2 separate regions of the Homo sapiens genome follow, and region 1 is linked to region 2. Evidence: promoter capture Hi-C in human tissues and cell types (Jung and others, 2019). All regions are on one chromosome and are shown on one strand. The core of a region is centred on a gene start or on the middle of the fragment in contact, and the rest is flanking DNA. Distances in the headings are between cores, read along the strand shown. Region 1 holds the start of MIR4327 (microRNA 4327). Region 2 holds the start of KRTAP27-1 (keratin associated protein 27-1).

Region 1 (6,364 bases), core at 1,874-4,373, 39 kb after region 2:
TTTGACATTTTATTTGGTTTAACTAAGGGAAATGGCATTCACAATGGTTATCGAAAAGAGAGCCTCTTAACTACCTGAAAATTAACTTCCTTCATTCCAAAGCACACTGTTTCAGAGCACTTAGTTACTTTGTTTTATGATTATCTCTCCCATGCAGAATCCAAAGTGTGGCATGCATCACATGAAGTGCCCTTGTGCAATACTTAAACCATCACTCTGATTCACTGAAGTAAAATAAGCTGTGCTTTATGAATGGACACCTATTAAATTCACCAAAAAGTATGCACCACCCCCAACACATGGGATTCCTTATAATGGCAGCTTTTAACACCTTTAAAATGAGAAATATTTTTCTTTTCTTACTACAGGTTGATTCTGCTCAAAAAAAAGAAAACAAAAAACTTACTAATATCCAAAAGTTCTTGCCTTTCTAGACCAGCTCCCTATGTCTGGGAATAAACACTAAAATAACTTGGGAGTAAGTCAGTTCCAATTAACAGTCCCTCCACCCATTCCTAATTGGGTTAACACTTTTTATTAGGAGTTATTTGTGCACTTTGTACAAATGCTAATGAACAACTCCCAAATGCTAATAAATGTGTCCATCTGAAAGGCAGAAAAAGCAGAACAAAACTAGAGTAGCCTTAACAGTTCAAAAGTGGATTCTGGAACTAATAAAATACTCTACGTACTCTACATACACAGGCAAAGTATTAGTATAGAAAGAAAAATTCACTATCTTGATATGTCAGGGAAAACGTGATATTGAAATCTTTTCTCTCTCTCTCCTTCCTTCCTTCCCTCCCTCCCTCTTTCTTTTTCTTTTTCTTTCTTTTCTTTCTCTGCCTCTCTTTCCTTTTCTTTTTCTTTCTTTTCTTTCCCTCCCTCCCTCTCTCTCTGCCTCCTTCCCTCCCTTTCTCCCTCTCTCTCTTTCTCTGTTTCTCTTTCTTTCTATTTCTTTCTTTCTTTTCTCTTTCTTTCTTTCTTCTTTCTCTTTTCTCTTTAGAAATTTAGGCATAACAACACTACAGAGAATAAAACTATCATTACAGTACACAGTAGCCACAAGTAGCCTATGATCTGAATTACTTGAAAAGTGATTGTTTTTCCAAGTTAACATAGTAATGTAGCAGAAGCTTTAAACTGACAATCTTCTATTGCAATGTTTCCAGAGATTCTTCAAAAGCTTTCAAATTAACCAAATATTAGGCAGTAGTAGAAATAGTAAAAATCCATATATACTGCCCTATACCTTTTTTACTTTCTTTTTTTTTTTTTTTTTTCCGAGACGGAGTCTGGCTCTGTCACCCAGGCTGGAGTACAGTGGTGCAATCTTGGCTCACTGCAAGCTCTGCCTCCCGGGTTCACACCATTCTCTTGCCTCAGCCTCCCGAGTAGCTGGGACTACAGGTGCCCGCCACCACGCCTGGCTAATTTTTTGTATTTTTAGTAGAGACGGGGTTTCCCCATGTTAGCCAGGATGGTCTTGATCTCCTGACCTCATGATCCACCCGCCTCGGCCTCCCAAAGTGCTGGGATTACAGGCGTGAGCCACCGCGTCCGGCCACCTTTTTACTTTCTGTTCACTTTTTAATTTTCTGCCTTCTCTAGACCTAGGAGAGGCTTTTATTGTCTGGTCACTAAAGAGTCTTCATAACAGCTGCTTTACACTAGATTTTATTTTTAAAATTCTCACCCAAGGGGAAATGTATCTATTAAACATTAATGCTAACTATGAAGAACCCACTACTGAGTAAAGGCTTGATGAGAACTCCCTGGACTAACCTGTTCATGGTCTCTTCCCAGTCCCCCATGCAAGCCTACCCAGGCCTGTGGCTTTCTCGGAGGTCATCCGGCCTCATTGTTTGAGACTTTTCCAGGCCCTGGCACCTCCTCTAACTTCACTACAGCTCTTCCTGCTTCAAATTCATCCATTTTATGTCTTCATCATCCATGACTTTCGTTTGAAATAAAAAGGCCAGGCTGGGCGCAGTGGCTCACGCCTGTAATCCCAGCACTTTGGGAGGCCGAGGCAGGTGGATCACGAGGTCAGGAGTTTGAGACCAGCCTTTCAAACATGGCGAAATCCCGTCTCTACTAAAAATACAAAAATTAGCCAGGCGTGGTGGCAGACATCTGTAATCCCAGCTACTGGAGAGGCTGAGGCAGGAGAATCGCTTGAAACTGGAAGGCAGAGGTTGCAGTGAGCCAAGGTCATGCCACTGCACTCCAGCCTGGGCGACAGAGTGAGATTCCGTCTCAAACAAACAAACAAACAAAAAGATTTATAAACAGCCTGCTTACACACCTCTCGGTTCTTCTTATCTCTTCTGAGACCTTACCCTTGCATTTACTGAAAACAAATAGAAAATTAAAGTAAATTCTAGAGTCATTTTCTGGATGCCTAAACTCACAATTGTTACCACGTTGTCAGATTTGCGTTCATCTTTCTCTTTTTTATTTTAAATGTTTATGGATACATAATGTTGCGCATATTAATGGGGTACATGTGATATTTTGATACAGGCACACGATGTGTAATGATCAAATCTGGGTAACTGGCATATCCATCACCTTAAACATTTATCATTTTTTTTGTGTTGAGAACATTCCAAATCTACTTTTCTAGTTATTTTGAAATATGCAATACATTATTGTTAACCACAGTTGCTGTACTGTGTTACTGAACACTAGATCTTATTCCTCCTATCTAACTATATTTTTGCACCCATTAACCAACACCTCTCTGTCCTTTCTTTCCACTACCCTTGCAAGCCTATGGTAACCACCATTCTATTCGCTATCTTACAGAGAGAGACCCCTTGTGGGCCAGTCTCTCAGTCTGATTCTTTTTCATATCTTTCCAAAGGCATCACAATAATGCATTCGTTTTTGCATAGCATTCCAGGAAATTGTCTATACATATATTTATCGGTTTATACCATTTATTGTTGTTTTAAGTTACAAAAATGCCATCTTATTGGATACATATATGTATCTGTAGCTTTCTTTTTATATTAAATTTATTTAAATAAAAATATCTAAAACATATCCAAGTTGATATTTATATATTTGTGCATTTATTATCACTACAGTAGAACTTTTAAATGTCAGGCACTGTTCTCAGCACTGTATTACAAATATTAACTCAATCCTCATAATAATTCTACATGGTACACACCACTTTTATTCTTGTTTTATAGCTGAGGAAGCTGAGACACAAACAGATTGAGTTACTTGCCAAAGCTACCCATGTAGTTAGTAGCAGAGATGAGATTTGAACTGCAATACTGACACCATTGTCAGACTTTATGCAAATAACCATGTTGCTATGATACACACATCTAGTTTATTCCTTGTTACAAATTTATAGAATTCTACTGTATAAAAATATTTTATTGATATATCGCTCTACCATTCTTGATTTTTTACTATCACAAACCATGTGGCAAGAAATATACTTCTATATAGGCCCTTGCATCTACTGTCTAGGGCTTCTGGAACATGTATATTTAGATGCAATTGCTGGACATACATAATTTCAATTCTAGCATGGTAGTTACGATCAAGGCTTTTGGATTCAGGCTGGCAGAGTTTGAATCCCAGCTCCATCACTTAGCTGTGTAACTCAGACCTGTTTTAGTTTCTCATATTTTGTTATCTTTTAGCCATTATTCTATGGAGTCATTTGTTCTTTTAAATGTATTTTTAGAGAATTTGTGCATTCTTTTTGTATGCCTTTGTCTTTCATATGTTGCTAATATATTCCTCTGGTCAGTTGTTTGACTCTTTTGTAAAGTCAGATCTGTGGATACACAGTTCCCATAAAATGAAATGCACCATTTTTAGGAGTACAGTTCAATGGGTTTTTTCCTTTCTGTTCTTTTTTTGGTGGAGGGGGCAAGGGCTTGCTCTGTTGCCCAGGCTGGAGTGCAGTAGTGTGATCATAGCTCACTGTAGCCTCCAACTGCTGAGCTCAAGTCATTCTCCTGCCTCAGCCTCCTGAGTGGTTAGGACTATAAGTGCATACCACAACCCCTAGCTATTTTTTTTTCTTTTTTTTTTGTAGAGGCAGATTCTCACTGTGTTGTCCAGTTTAGTCTTGAATTCCTGGCCTCATGCAATCTTCCTGCCTTGGCTTCCCAGTTCAATGAGTTTTGACAAACATATATAGTTATGTAATCATCAATTGATTGAGATAGAGTATTTCCATTATTTCTAGAAATTCTCCTGTGCTCCTTTGGATCAATCTGCTTCCCCAATATCTAAATTTCTGTTCCTATAGTCTTATTTTTTGAACTGCATGATAAAAGGAATTACACATTACGTTGCCTTCTGTGTTTAACTTCCTTCACAGAGCATAATGCTTTTGAAATTCATCCATGTTGTTGCATATTCCAGTAGTTTATTCCCTTTTATTGCCAAGTGGTATTTCATTGTATGTACGCTATACACTAGAAAATGGACATTTAGATGATTTTGAGTCTGGAGTTACTGTGGATAAAACTGCTATAAACATTCACATACAGATAATTTTGTGGACATATGTAATATGGTTTGGCTCTGTGTGCCCATTCAAATCTCATCTCTAATTATAATCCCCACATGTCAAGGAAGGGACCTGGTGGGAGGTGATTGGATCATGAGGACGGTTTCCGCCATGCTGTTCTGATGATAGTGAGGGATTTCTCATGAGATCTGATGGTTTTAAAAGTCCCAGTTTCTGCCTGTGTATACTCTCTTTCTCTCCTGCCACCATGTAACATGTGCCTTGCTTCCCCTTCACCTTCCACCATGATGTAAATTTCCTGGTGCCTCTCCAACCATGAGGAACTATGAGTCAATTAAACCATTTTTCTTTATAAATTACCCAGTCCTAGGTAGTATCTTCATAGCAGTGTGATAACAGACTAATACAGAGAATTGGTACCAGCAGAGTTGGGTACTGCTATAAAGATAAACTGAAAATGTGGAAGCGACATTGGAACTGGTAACAGGAGGAGGTTGGAACAGTTTGGAGGGCTTAGAAGAAGACGGGAAGATGTGGGAAAGTTTGGAACTTCCTAGAGACTTGTTGAATGGTTTTGACCAAAATGCTGATAGTGATATGAACAACGAAGTCCATGCTGAGGTGGTCTCAGATGGAGATGAGGAACTTATAGGGAACTGGAGCAAAGTCACTCTTGCTATGCTTTAGCAAAGAAACTAGTGGCATTTTTCCCCTGCTTTAGAGACCTGTGAAACTTTGAACTTGAGAGAGATGATTTAAGGTATCCGGTGGAAGAAATTGCTAAGCAGCAGAACATTCAACATGTGACCTGGCTTATTCTGAAAGCATTCAGTTATGTGTGTTCACAAAGAGATGCTTTGAAATTGGAACTTATTTTAAAAAGGAAGCAGAGCATAAAAGTTTGGAAAATTTGCAGCCTGACCATGTGATAGAAAAGGAATACCCATTTTCTGCAGAGGAATTCAAGCTGGCTGCAGAAATTTGCATAAGCAACGAGGAGCTGAATGTCAATAGCCAAGACAATGGGGAAAATGTCTCAGGGGCATGTCAGAGACATTTACAGGAGCCATTGTCATCACCGGCCTGGAGGCCTGGGAGGGAAAAATGGCTTCATACATTAGGATCAGGGCTTGGCTGCTCTGTGCAGCTTCAGGACTTGATGCCTTGTGTCCCAGAAGCTCCAGCTCCAGCCATGGCTGATAGGGGCCAGGGTATAGCTACAGCTGTTGCTTCAGAGGGTGCAAGTCCCAAGCATTGGTGGCTTGCAAGTGGTATTGGGCCTGCAGATGTGCAGAAAACAAGAGTTGAGGTTTGGGAACCTCTGTCTAAATTTCAGAGGATATATGTAAATGCTTGGAAGTCCAGACAATAGTCTGCTGCAGGGGCAGAGCCCTCATGGAGAACCTCTGCTAGGGCAGTGCAGAAGGGAACTGTGGGGTGTGAGCTCCCACACAGAGTCCCCACTGGGGCACTGTCTGGTGGAGCCATGAGAAGGCCACCATCCTCCAGACCCCAGAAATGTAGATCCACCAACAGCTTGCATTGTGTGTGTGGAAAAGCCACAGACACTCAATGCCAGCCTGTGAAAGTAGCCATGAGGACTATAACCTGCAGAGCCACAGGAGAGAAGCTGCCCAAGGCATTAGGAGCCCACCCCTTGCATCAGCGTGTCCTGGATGTGGGACATGAATTCAAAGGAAATTATTTTGGAGCTTTAATATTTAATGGCTGTGCTACATGGGGCCTGTATCCTTTTTGTTCTGGCCAATTTCTCCCTCTTGGAATGTGAACATTTACCCAATGCCTGTACCCCCATTGTATCTTGGAAGTAACTAACTTGTTTTTGATTTACAG
Region 2 (7,376 bases), core at 4,877-7,376:
TATACTTCATCAAGGCCGTATCTCTGATATAACCAGAATATGATTTATTAATTATATTAGCTGTTTCCTTCTTAAATATTTTTCAATCAACTATTATTTGAGTCCAAGTGGAAGATTTTAGAACAACTCTCTAGGTAAAAGAATTTCAAATGAGGAAGTAAGTAAGACTCCTGGAAATAAAACAGAAAGCACAACTAGGGAAGGATATTGTGGCTTCAATAGAGATATGAGTGATTCTCATCTAACATGGAGCAAAGTCCTGTCCAATCCTATTAGTGTCTACAATGAGCTCAAAATTTTCAAGAGAAATAGTATTTAATTTAAAAAGAATAAGGACTAAAGGATATGGAAAATGAAAGTACTACCATTAAGACGATAATTGTTGTATTGTAGGTGAATCTGACTCCATGCCATCTAAATCCTTTTCCTAGCATCTAGATTCTATTGATGACACATGACTTGAAGTTAGTATTTGTTTTTTTCTAAGATATTTCAATTGCATAATATTTTACAAACTCTAATGAAAATATGTTCATTTCCTTTATTGCATTTATTTTTGAGTTACAAATGAGCCATCCAGTCAACAATACTCAGTTCTCTGGGTGTTTCTTCTGCAGTCTCACAGCAATACAATATAACCAGACCAATCATTTTTAGTCAAATTATTTGTATCGGTCCTCCACATTGCACAGATATTTCTTCCACATTTGAAGCTACTCTAATGACTAGAAGTATAATATAAGTAAAGCACAATTAAAGTATTACAGTGTTATACTCAAACTTTAAAGATTCATGGGTTAAAACCCTCGTTCCACCATTTACTTCCTGTACTGGAAAAGTTACTTAAATTACAGAGTAGGGAGTAAGTAAGACTCTTGAAAGTAGAAAGACAGAGTAGAACTAGGGAAGGATATCGTGGCTTAAAGAAAGATATGAGTAATTCTCTTCTAACACAAAGCAAAGTCTTGTCCTCCACAGGACAAATTTGTGCCTTTGTCCTCACTGGAAAAAGGGGGATTTACTAATGTTACTTATACCACTGGGTTATTTGAGTTTAAAATGATAAAATATGTACAAAGTGTTAGGTAAATAATAAGCACCCAATTAATAAGAGCTATTTTATGGCTCTTGACCCAGCACTGTACAGGCAAGAAGACATTCTTGATAGTCATTATGCTTTACTTCTAAGAGAAAAACATGTGGTTAAACTACCAATGTCTTGAGGTGTTCAGGATACCAATGTACAAATCCTACCATTCTTTTTAGGCAGGAAGAAGTCCCTTGGTCTATGAAGAATGCTCTGTAGCATGCATATACCCACCGGTATGTTTTGACATTGCTTAAAAATGAGTCCTGCATAGAATATCCTGGTTATGTCCCATACTGCTTACATTCTTTTCACATGGAATGAAATAATTTTCTTGGTCTCTGCCCTGGATTCAAATGCATTATAGACAATCATAAAAACAAACTGAAATTGAGGCCCAAGAGAAAAATATCAGACGAAGTATCAAATGATACCTAGCATATATTGTGCTCTTATTATGTGCCAAACAGTCCACTAAGCATTTAATTGGAATCATGCCATTTAGTTGTCATAATCATCCAATGACTTTAATATTATTATCTCCATTTTACAATAATGGAACCAAGTCTCAGAAATGTTAATTTGGGCCAGGTGCAGTGGCTCACGCCTGTAATCCCAGCATTTTTGAAGGCTGAGGCAGGTGGATCACTTGATGTCAGGAGTTTGAGACCAGCCTGCCCAGCATGATGAAACCCCATCTCTACAAGAAGTACAAATATTAGCCAGGTGTTGTGGCATGCACCTGTAATTCCAGCTACTTGGGAGGCTGAGGCATGAGAATCGCTTGAACCCGGGAGACAGAGTTTGCAGGGAGCTAACATTGCACTACTGCCCTCCAGCCTGGGCAGCAAAGTGAGACACTGACAAAAAAAAAAAAAAAAAAGAAAAAGAAAAAAAGAATGTTAATTCATCCCAGAGCACATAGCTTTTAATACACAGAATTTGGAATTGAGTAAGATCTAGTCATACTATAAGATTCATGTCCTTTTCCTTACACTAAATTTTCTACCAAGGTTTATATAATTATGGCATTCCATATTCCAATATCAAAAGTCTTTTTGTACCTGAGTCCACATAATTTCTTTCTATGAGGAGCTCTAATATGCTCCATGTTGAGTTAGATTAAATACTGGCTCCTTCTTCAGCTAGCTTCTCTTTCTAGCAGTGGTCAAGCTCAGCCTGGAAAGCTAATGTCTAGAATGATGAACAGAGTAGATGGGAAAGTGAAACTTAACATCACGTCCCTCTTTCCTGGCATTCCCCTGCTCCACAACACATACCACACATAGCCCGTTTTCGCCAAAGTCCTGTTTTCTCAGCAAGCTACACCCAGTAAAATAATATATACTTGGAAGGCACATGGAATGGGTAGGTTTTCCCTCTTGTCTTTAGAAACAGTGGTCCAAATGAATTGAGCTTTTTCTGGGCAACCCAGTTGGCATTGCAATAGTAAAAATCCTTATTGTGAATGAACTTGATCTATGTTCACATGATTGGCTGTGACTAGAATGCTGAGAAGCTGCCACGAGATAAATTCTGTCTTTACTGTTGCCAATGCTGTGTTACTGCCATCAGTGCTGTGGACAGAAGCTTTATGTCAATGTTGTTTGCTTCAGGGATGTTCTGCTATTGAGGCTGCCAAAGGCTCTGAGTACTATTGATGGTATTGAATAGTGTTTGGCCTCTCTCAGACTTCCGTCAATCCTATCCCTCTACAGAGCACCTGTGTATGTGGTGGTTTACAGATTTTAGGCTTAAGTCTTCCTCTTTGAGATGGCCTGTGTCTATCCCACTGTATTATTCAGGGCTACATAGAGAAACAGAACCAATAAAATAGATAGATAGATGATAGATGATAGATGATAGATAGATAGATAGATAGATAGATAGATAGATAGATAGACAGACTATATATAATATATATTTATCTCACTGTATATATGTGTGTGTATATATATGCATGTGTGTGTGTGTGTGTGTGTGTGTGTGTGTGTGTGTGTATGAAGAGAGAGAGAGAGTGAGTGATTTATCACGAAGGATTGGCTCACACAATTATGGAGGCTAAGAAATCTCATGATGTGTCACCTGCAACCTGGAAACTCAAGGAAACCAGTGATATAATTCCAGTCCAAATGTGAAGATCTGAGAACCAGGGGAGCCAATGGTATAAATCCAGTCCAAGGGCAGGAGAAACCCAATGTCTCTGCTCAAGTAGGCTTGCAGGAAACATAAACGGGCACATTTCTCCTTCCCCGACCATTTGTTTTATTTAGGCCCTCAATGGACTGAACGATTCCCATCCACATTGGAGAGGGCCATCTACTGAGCACACTGATTTAAATGCTTATCTCCCTTGAACACTCTCACAGACACACTCAGAAATAATGCTTAATCTGGGCAGCCCTTGGCTCAATCATGTTGATACATAGAATTACCATGGCACCCACCCTCAGAACTAACTGGTAAATTATCAGTAGCATTAGGTTTGCCATAGATTCAGAGATACTTGCCAATTTACTTCAACTAGACAGCGTTTAAGTTTCTTAATTTTCTCCCTTAGTAGATGATGCTGCCTGCATCTTCCAAAATACAAAACAGCTAATCTCTCTTTTGTTGGATGACTAGCTTTCCTAATCTCTCATGGATTTCTGGGTTTATTTACAAATCCCCACTACCTCCCCCATACCAAGTCTCTGAGCTAGCTGAGTTGCTAAATATGCTATATACATGGTAATTTTTTAAGCCTTACACTTTCAATTTATTAACTTATTAAGGCTCACAGTAGCCCTATTATTATCCTTCACTTTTGAAGTTGAAGAAACTGAGGTGGTTAAATAACTTGCACACAGTCACACAGTTGGAACTTAAACAGCCATCACTAAGCAAAGCTAAGATTCCAGCTCAAGGAAATCCATATTCAGAGTTCATGCTCTCAACCACTACCTTATTTTGCCCTGAAAAAATGTGAGATCCAAGGCCAGGCATGGTGGCTCACGCCTGTAATCCCAGCACTTTGGGAGGCCGAGGCAGGCGGATCACGAGGTCAGGAGATTGAGACCATCCTGGCTAATGTGGTGAAACCCGTTTCTACTACAAATACAAAAAATTAGCCGGGCATGGTGGCAGGCACCTGTAGTCCCAGCTACTCGGGAGTCTGAGGCAGGAGAATGGCGTGAACCCAGGAAGCAGAGCTTGCAGTGAGCCGAGATTGCGCCACTGCACTCCAGCCTGGGTGACATAGCGAGACTCCATCTCAAAAAAAAAAAAAAAAATTGAAAGATCAATTTAAGAACACACCAAAAGTTTCAGAATAGCTAAGCTACCTAAATAAAATTAATCAATTTCAAACATCTGACTCTATGGTCTTATGATGTTCATATGAGTATATTTTCCATCTTCTGTTGACTACCACCATGAGTTATTCTTTTCTGGTTCACACTATAAAAATTATAACAAGAGGATATGTTCTCTTTTCTTCTAAATATTTATACTATTTTCATTAGGTAACAAACGAAGAAACAAAAAGCCTGTAACATAACACCTGCAAAAGGATTGAATAAAAATAATAGTGTGACAAGTCCAAATTTTGCTTCCAAAGAAAGCAAATTTATTTAATACAAAGAATATTTTCCAAACTCAAAAAATACTTAAGAAATAATGAAAACAGGAAAAAAACAAACAACCAAAAAAACAACGGGAACGAAATGAAGTGAAGATTCTAAACTTCAATTCATTCTATTTAAAGGCTTCTGGTTGCTACGTGGTTATAAAGCCCATGGAGGTGAAATTCAAAATTACCTTGCTCTATTCGAACAATAGACTTAATCTTCTAGTTAATTTGAGAATGTTGTGATTCAATGGCTAAAATAACAGATGGCCAGTGAGTAGGCCTGGATTTTAGTTGTGGTTCTGATGTTATTAACTACTTGGGCAACCTCTGATAGAGTTGAACCTATCGTAATTCACAGGACTAGGTAGGCTTTTAGGTTTGGTTCCAATATTTTATGAATTTCTGAGACTAGTAGCACATTACTTAATAAACCAGATCCAATGCTAAGTATTTCCAAAGAAAACAACTTGCAGTTAAAGTGTGATGTTTCCTTTAAGTATTCATGTTATTTCCTGGCTACAGCTCTTATTGCTTAATAACAAATCGTATCCTACTGCTCTAAAATAGCTAGCATGCTTTCCAACCCCAGATTACCACTAGACATACCCAAAAGAAAAACAAGAAAAAAAATCTTGTCTTTGGAGACAGTAGTAAAATAAGACATGTTCATTTACTAACAAACACACACAACATTTTTTATTTAAAGAAATACAAAATATCTAAGTATCTCAAAAATAAATTCATCCAAATGAGAATATAAGCCATCTCCCCTACAGATCTTCACTTACTAGGCAATTGAGAACCACCAGTAACACAGCAAGTTGGTTCAACTCCTGGAGAAGATTCCAGGAGTTGTGGCTCAGGTGCAACATTGACCAGAGGTCTACAGGAACTGGATTCAGGGTTCTGAGACTGACACTGACATTGGCTAGATGCACGTTCCAGAGTTTCGAAATTTTTAGACTTAGAAGTCTTGGGTGGGCAACTGTTTCCCTTGAGGCTTGCAGGTTGGCAGCTCTGGGCTACAAAACCCATCTGCTGAGTGCTTTCTGATTGGCAAGGCTGAGAAACACAAGCCAGCCCTGCTGAAGAACTTTCTGATTGGCACGCTGTCCTTTCGCAGGGCCTGGAATTGGAGTAAGTAGTTTGGACAACTCCGGGGAAGCAGTTACTTTGCACACAGCTATCGTCTGTGAATAAGTCCTGTTCACAATTGGTCATTTGGCAGCTGGTGGTTTCATTGCAGGTTTCTTGAAAGTTGTCCAGGAAACAGGTTCTGCTATGGAAGCTGCTGGGCAAACACAATCTGTCTTCAAAGGTTATAGGATTAGTGCCATGTGTGATGGCAGAGAGTGGTGGGGCATTGTGGAAGCTCCTGAGTGAATGGCAGTGGCTATGAGGCATATTGCTAAAAATCCTTAAAGATGGTCATAAGGACTCAACATGCTGAGTTTGAAAATTAAATTCTTTGGTGCGGCGATTATATACTCAGAAACCTGGGTGTTGGCTTCTCAAGACTTCTTTGCAACTCATTGCTTAAACTAATTTGAAGGATAACATCTCATTACCACTTTGGTTATATATGCAGATGATGTCTTATTAACAAAGATGTAAGTCCATTTTGAATCTTCAAAATGGCTTTTATGTTAGCTCCAAAGATGACTCATTCAAGGTGGGGTTGGTCAAATAAGAGTCTAAACCTGTCCAACCAAGCTAACATTTTTTTTTTTTTTTGCCACCATGACTCTGCACATTGGTAAGTGGACAATGAGAAATGCATGAGGCAGTGGCCAACTGAATACTGATTAACATTTAGCACTGGTTTTGAGAGCTGCCAATGTAGCAGAATGTGGTAATTTGATGTTCAAGACATTTAAAGTTAGAATTGGATCCAGGTTGAGCCCAATCTCATTCCACTCAGATATTGTTCTCTCCAGTGGACCAGAATGTGAGAGGACTTTGTGATCACATTCCTTCTCAGTGTTCATGCAAAGTACTGAGTGTGGCCATTGCCCAATAAATACTTGTCTTTTGCCTAACATTTCGTTTCCCTAATCTCCTTGAAAGCCAAGTTTAAATGCGTCCTTTTCCTGAAGTCTTCCCCAATCTTCCCATTTAGGAGTTATTTCTTCCTTTTCTGAATTACTAATGGATTTAATTCCTTTTTTCTATACTTGACAAAGTGGTGTGTTTACTTGTGTTTGTGCTTCTCAAAGGTTGATTATTTTCCTTTATAATGAACCTTCTTCAGATATTTTTCATCTTTATTCTGTGCTTTTTTTATTGACTGCAGACAGATGATCAGTTCCTATGTTTATCGCATTAGGACACCGTTCTTAGCATAGTTTCATACTCATGGCACAGAGCCAACCAGCACAATTTCTATAACATATTCTATAATATATTTGGCTCAGCTAATGACAATAAAATAGAAGTATAGTCTTAGTGCACTAACTAGACTCCCTTTCTAAGGTCTGAAGAAGCCCAAGAACATTCAGCAATTCTCAGTAATTCTTATGCAAACACTTCCTTGAAAGACTGAGGATATTATAAATTTAAAAGGGCACATCTGAATACTTTCAGCTTTATAGGCTGCACACTCATCTTGTATACAATACCTTTGTAACACACGCAAGTCATTTATAATTTTGAATAACCACACTTGTATGTTTAAAGATC

The links. The method cuts DNA at HindIII sites, captures the fragments that hold promoters and counts their contacts. A contact is called where the count stands out against the background at its distance.
Region 1: a fragment that was not itself captured here is called in contact with the fragment with the promoter of KRTAP27-1 in region 2 in 2 of the 25 tissues and cell types used here (hippocampus and small bowel).

What each region holds. Positions count from the first base shown.
Region 1 is chr21:30,373,548-30,379,911 of GRCh38, forward strand. It overlaps MIR4327 (microRNA 4327), which reads right to left and starts at 1,831; the gene lies at 1,747-1,831. The HindIII fragment of the contact is 5,336 bases long and covers 456-5,791 here.
Region 2 is chr21:30,331,568-30,338,943 of GRCh38, forward strand. KRTAP27-1 (keratin associated protein 27-1) reads right to left here and starts at 6,127. Exons shown (of 1, transcript NM_001077711.1): 1 at 5,446-6,127. The coding sequence starts at 6,101. The coding sequence ends at 5,478. The HindIII fragment of the contact is 14,979 bases long and covers 746-7,376 here.